Regions from separate parts of the Homo sapiens genome. Here region 1 is linked to region 2. The links are contacts of gene promoters, found by promoter capture Hi-C in blood cells and fetal thymus (Javierre and others, 2016). All regions are on one chromosome and are shown on one strand. The core of a region is centred on a gene start or on the middle of the fragment in contact, and the rest is flanking DNA. Distances in the headings are between cores, read along the strand shown. Region 1 holds the start of HHAT (hedgehog acyltransferase). Region 2 holds the start of IRF6 (interferon regulatory factor 6).

Evidence for each region. The method cuts DNA at HindIII sites, captures the fragments that hold promoters and counts their contacts. A CHiCAGO score of 5 or more calls a contact.
Region 1: a contact is called between a fragment that was not itself captured here and the fragment with the promoter of IRF6 in region 2, in 1 of 17 cell types (total B cells). The highest score is 5.5, in total B cells.

The regions. Positions count from the first base shown.
Region 1 is chr1:210,328,785-210,331,506 of GRCh38, forward strand. It overlaps HHAT (hedgehog acyltransferase), which reads left to right and starts at 118. Exons shown (of 12, transcript NM_018194.6): 1 at 118-320. RefSeq lists a silencer at 1-174 and enhancers at 335-694, 1,807-1,976. The HindIII fragment of the contact is 5,497 bases long and covers 1-2,722 here.
Region 2 is chr1:209,804,854-209,807,553 of GRCh38, forward strand. It overlaps IRF6 (interferon regulatory factor 6), which reads right to left and starts at 1,289. Exons shown (of 9, transcript NM_006147.4): 1 at 1,094-1,289. RefSeq lists a silencer at 1,211-1,554. The HindIII fragment of the contact is 4,987 bases long and covers 1-2,372 here.

The DNA.
Region 1 (2,722 bases), core at 128-2,627, 520 kb after region 2:
GCAAACGCGGTTCAGAAACGCAGGCCGCGCTCTGGCCCGCCCCCTGCAGCAGCACGGCCTGCTCGCCATCGCCCGGAGAGCGCCGCGGGTTCCCGAGTCCGGGCGCGGAGGGCGCGCGGGCACGGCGGCAGGGGCGTGCTCGGAGGACGCGCGCTGCGCTGCTCCTCCAAAGGGCAGCTCCGGGGGAAAGAGGGTGGCGTCCCGGGGAAGCCCGCAGCCGCCGCCGATGTCGCTGGGACTCGGAAGTGCCGAAAGAGGGGTGTTGGGAACTCGCGGCGCGCGTGAACGTTGCCGTCGCCGCCGCCCGGGACAGCCCGGAGGTTGGTAACTGGTGACCATAGGGGGTCCTGGGGAGGTTAGATGCTGAATTTTCTGCGTCAGTTTACTCTGTTAAAAAAAAAATGCACAAAACGCTTTCCGTTTCCTACCCAAGTTCCCGTGTGCGCGCCCGAGGGCGGGACAGAGGAAGTTCCCGGTCGGGCGAAGAAGACAAAAGCGGCGGGGGCCGCGCGCGCAGTGCGCCCGGGCAAAGGCGGGGATCTAGGCGCCGGGACAAGTCCGCGCACGGCCCTGCCCACGTCCTCTCTCCTTGGCTTCGTCCCCAGCTTCCGGAACTGCTGCGGGGAGTTGCGAACTCTGGTCCTCTTGGCAGTATCGGCGGTGCGCCTGCCTGCCTGCTGTGACTCCAGGGACTCTAAAGTTAGAGACTTCCTTTGCGTTCTATCTTCAGGACTCAGTTTTCTTCCTCTGTTCTGAGTCTAACCTTCAGGTGGCAGGTCTTTATGCGGAAAAACCCTCCCGCTAATCCTCACCAGAGGTACTTTACGGGTAGCATTGGTGTTAAGAAATGTGCTGCTACCTGTGTACATTGCTCTTGGATCAGGGTTGTAGGGCTAGGGCATTTGGCATCCTCAGAGGTTTGCATTACGTGGGAGTGAGACATTGCTTCTCTTTCTGTTTTTGTTGTTGTTTGTGTTTTTGAGGCGGAGTTTCGCTCTGGTCGCCCAGGCTGGAGTGCAATGGCACAATCTCAGCTCACTGCAACCTCAGCATCCCGGTTTCAAGCGATTCTCCAGCCTTGCCTCCTGAGTAGCTGGGATTACAGGCATGCGCCACCACGCCCACCTAATTTTGTATTTTTAGTAGAGACGAGGGTCTCACCGTGTTGGCCAGGCTGGTCTCGAATTCCTGACCTCGGGTGATCTGCCCACCTCGACCTCCCAAAGTGCTGGGATTACAGGCGTGAGCCACCGTGCCTGGCATCTCATTCATTCTCAGAGCTAAGGACCTATTTCAATGTGATTAAGTGCTATGGGAATGCAAGGAGAGGAGAGGGAAGGCTTCATTGAAGAGGCGGTAGTTCATTGAAGGAGACTTTGAGGAATGATTTTTTTCCCCTTCCATTCCTCATGTTCCATTTTCCCTGTGATTTTTCTCCCTCCTTTCTCGTTGCCAGTCAGTCCCTAATTGTGATTGTTTGATAAGGACAGCTCTGACCTGAGAGATTCAATTAATGTTAATTTAAGGAGACTGTGTGCTTATTAGGTGCTTTAGATACATTATTTCTAAACCTTACAGTAACTGGGAAAGATAAGTGTTGTTATCTCTTTTCACAGTAGGATAGAGAAAGCCTTGGAGGGGAGCCAAAGCCACAAACTAGTACATGTCAGGGCCGGGTTTTGGACTCCTCTTTTGGATCAACGCCTGTGCTTTATCTACTGTTTACTTTGCCCCCTCCTTGGAAGTAGGTTAGATGGATGAACTTAGGGTGAAAGTCAATTCTTTGGAGGGAGCAGCCGTTTTTGTGGGTGGCCAGATGTTGGTGGGAGCTCTGTAGGTAGCATCAGGAACTTGCGAGCATGGGCCTTACCTGCACCCCCTGCTTCCAGCTTAGGACCTGGCCCAGGGGGAATGTTCCCTAAAGCAGTGGTCCCCAACCTTTTTGGCACCAAGGACCGGTTTCATGGACAATAAGTTTTTCATGGACTGGGGGAAGGGGGATGGTGTTGGGATAATTCAAGCACGTTACATTTATTTTATTTATTTGTTTTGAGACAAGAGTCTCGCTGGGTCACCCAGGCTGGAGTGCAGTGGCACGATACTGGCTCACTGCAACCTCCACCTCTGGGGATCAAGCAATTCTCGTGCCTCAGCCTCCGGAGTAGCTTACAGGCATGCGACACCACATCTGGCTAATTTTTGTATTTTTAGTAGAGACAGGATTTCACCATGTCAACCAGGCTGGTCTCAAATTCCTGAGCTCGAACTCCTGAGCTCAAGCCATCCTCTCCTTGGCCTCCCAAAGTGCTGGGATTACAGGTGTGAATCACCATGCCCCACCTGCATTACATTTATTGTGGACTTTATTTCTATTATTATTACATTGTAATATGAATACAACTCACCATAGAGTAGAATCAGTGGGACCCCTGAGCTTGTTTTTCTGCAACTAGGCAGTCCCATCTGGGGGGGTGTGTTGGTAGACATTGACACCCAAAGTGTGTTTGCTTATGTCCAGCCTACTTCATAGTCTCATTTTGGTTGCTGTCACTGCAGAAGACCCTGCTTCACAAAGATAGGATGTTGGAAATGGAAGCAGGCTTTTCGGTGCTTTTGTGGCAATTTCAGGATACTTTGCCTTGACTTTAATCCAGAATGTATGGATATTTGAAGTTGTCTTAAACATACTTCTAGGGCCCGGTCATTTGCTATCTCAAACAGT
Region 2 (2,700 bases), core at 39-2,538:
AGGTTAAAACACACGCCATTTCTCGCAGACAATTCTTAGCAGTCCCAGCTCTTCCCTTTCTCCTGAAAGAAATGAAATGCCATCGTCTAAGTTCCGTTCCTCAGGCTTCCCTGTTTAGCCCTGCTTAGGGGTAAACTGCAGGCCTCTAGTCAAAATGCCCACACCCTTCCCTTCTGCTGGATGGAAGCTGGGGGATGGCGAATGGGAGTTACAAGGTATTGAGTGCCACTGTCATACATCATACACACGTCTCATCCTAAACCACACTCCTGGGTCAACACCAGCTTTCACCAATCCCACCCAAGCGCCTTCCTCTCTCTATCCATCTCTTTTCCCTGACTTCCACTCTTGACATCCACCAAGAGAACAGGTTGGAACAGGATGACCCCTTTACCACAAAGCAGGCTCCCTGTAAAGAGTGACACCTCAGGCCTCCTTTCCAAGTCAGGCCTGGGAGACTTTCCCCATTCTCCACACCACCCTCCAGCCCCTTCGGGCAAAGAGGGCCCACCCCCAGAGCAACCACACCCCAGCGCCACCCTCCCCAGCACCTAGCTCCGCTCCTTGGAAATCCAAGGTTGTCTCCCAGGCCCAGGGCGAAGGGCCTAACTGTGCCAAACAGACTCAGGGAGGGAAGACAAACCGCCAATGCTCCAAAGCTCCTGGCCACCCTCACTCCAGTTTCCCAAAACGCCCACTAGGATCAAGGACCTGCGGACCTGGGAAGTCCCCTCTCTGGGACACAGGGGCCAGCCGCAAGTTGGTAAGACTGAAGGGGGCGCGGTGCTTTAGCTCTACCGGATAGTGGGGTTGTTGACGGCCGAGAGCAGTGCCCTCCGCTTCGGCGGTGGGGGTAGGGAGAGTAGACACAAGTGTAGATTCGAGAGGGGCCTAGCGCTACAGAACTGAGGCCGCCCCAAAGCTATCTGGAAAAGGGCGACAGGCACCCAGCCCCAGTGGGTACCCACCCCAAACACACAGATGCCCCCAAGCAAGTTCTCTCACCCCCTACAAACTCCGGGGATGGGTCCTACCCCACCCACGGGGGAGCCTCTCCTCCCTCAAGCTGGTCCCCAGAAGTTGGCGTACCCACCTTTGCTCAATCTGTCCACCAGAAGCGGACGTCCCTCCGAACCAAGTCCGCAGCGAAGATCACCCGTCGCTACCACGCTCCTCGACGTCTTAGCCAAGGGGCGCCTGGCTCTACCCAAGTAGGGACTGCAGGTTCCTCTCCCCGTCCCGCACCAGCCCTTACCTGCCCAGCCCAGGTGCGCCGAGCTCACGTCAGCGCCTCGCCCCAGGACGCCGCAGCCTTCGCATCCGCCCGGCCACGCCTCCCAGGTGTGGCCACGCCCCCCGGCGTTCGGGATTGGCGAGTTGCAAGAAATATGACACTCCGCGTTTCTGGGCTGCCCGGCCCAGCGGCGTCCGTCCAGCGTCCCACCCTACTCCTCCGCTTCTAACTCCGGCTAAGAAAGTCCCAGATTCAGGCCTAGCCTTACGGCTCAGGGCTGGTGGTCCTGGGAACTGGAAGCGACTGGGAGTTCAGATCTAAGTCGAGAGGGTGCCTCCCTCCTTCACGGCCCATAATTACCCTGCAGTATGCAGACAGTTAAGCACAAATAAGGGTTTTGAGATTCTGGGTTGGCCCTACTACTCGTGGGCCTGTGTAAGTGGAGTTGCACATGAAGAAGAGAACCAGGACACTTGGTCCTGTCTGGGAGAAGCCATAGGCTTTCAGGACTAGAATTCTACCTTTACTCTGCCTCTTACCCGTGTGACCCTGGGTAAGTTACTTAGCTTCTTGGCTTCTTGGTTTCAGTTTCCTCATCTCTTCAATGAGAATAATAATTCCTTCCTTCTTTTTTGTTGTTGTTTGCTTTTTTCTCTTTCTTTTTTCTTCCTTTTTTTTTTTTTTTTTTTTTGGAGATGGGGTCTTGCTATTAAGTTACACAGTCTGGTCTGCAACACCTGGGCTCAAGGGATCCGCCTCAGCCTCGCAAAGTGCTGGGATTACAGGCACTGGCACCCAGTTCAATTCCTTTTTTTTTTTTTTTTTTTTTTTTTAGGCAGGGTCTGGCTCTGTCATCCAGGCTAGAATGCAGTGGCACAATCATAGCTCAACCTCCTGGGCTCAAGCAATTATCCCACCTCACCCTCCCAAGTAACTGGAAATATAGGCATGGGTCACCATGCCCGGCTAATTTTTTTTTTTTTTTTTTAGAGACAGGGTCTGACTATGTTGCCCAGACTGGAGTTCCTGCTTCCTCTGATCACTATCGTGTAATGAGTAAAAGCATAGCCTCTGGAGCCAACTATTGGGGTTTAGACCCCAACTCCATCAGTTACTACAGACTTGGGAAAGTTTCTTAAGCTTTTTAGGCCCTGGTGTCTTATCTGTAGAAAGAGGTTAGTAATAGTACCTACCTCAGGGGTATTGTGGGAATTCAATAACTACATGTAAACTGCTTGCAACAATATTTAGCACTTATCAAGTGCTTTATATGTACTTGCAATTATTATTGGCATAAAGATTAAAAATACCATATAGACAGTGCGTCAGAGAACAAGAAGGCATTCCTTGTTATTACCTGAAATTCAAGTCCTGCATGTACCCTAACAGGTGCTTGATGAGATTGCCCTCACCTTCCTCATCTATCTAGAGGACCGGTTTGCAGGAGGCTGTGCAACAGTAAATGA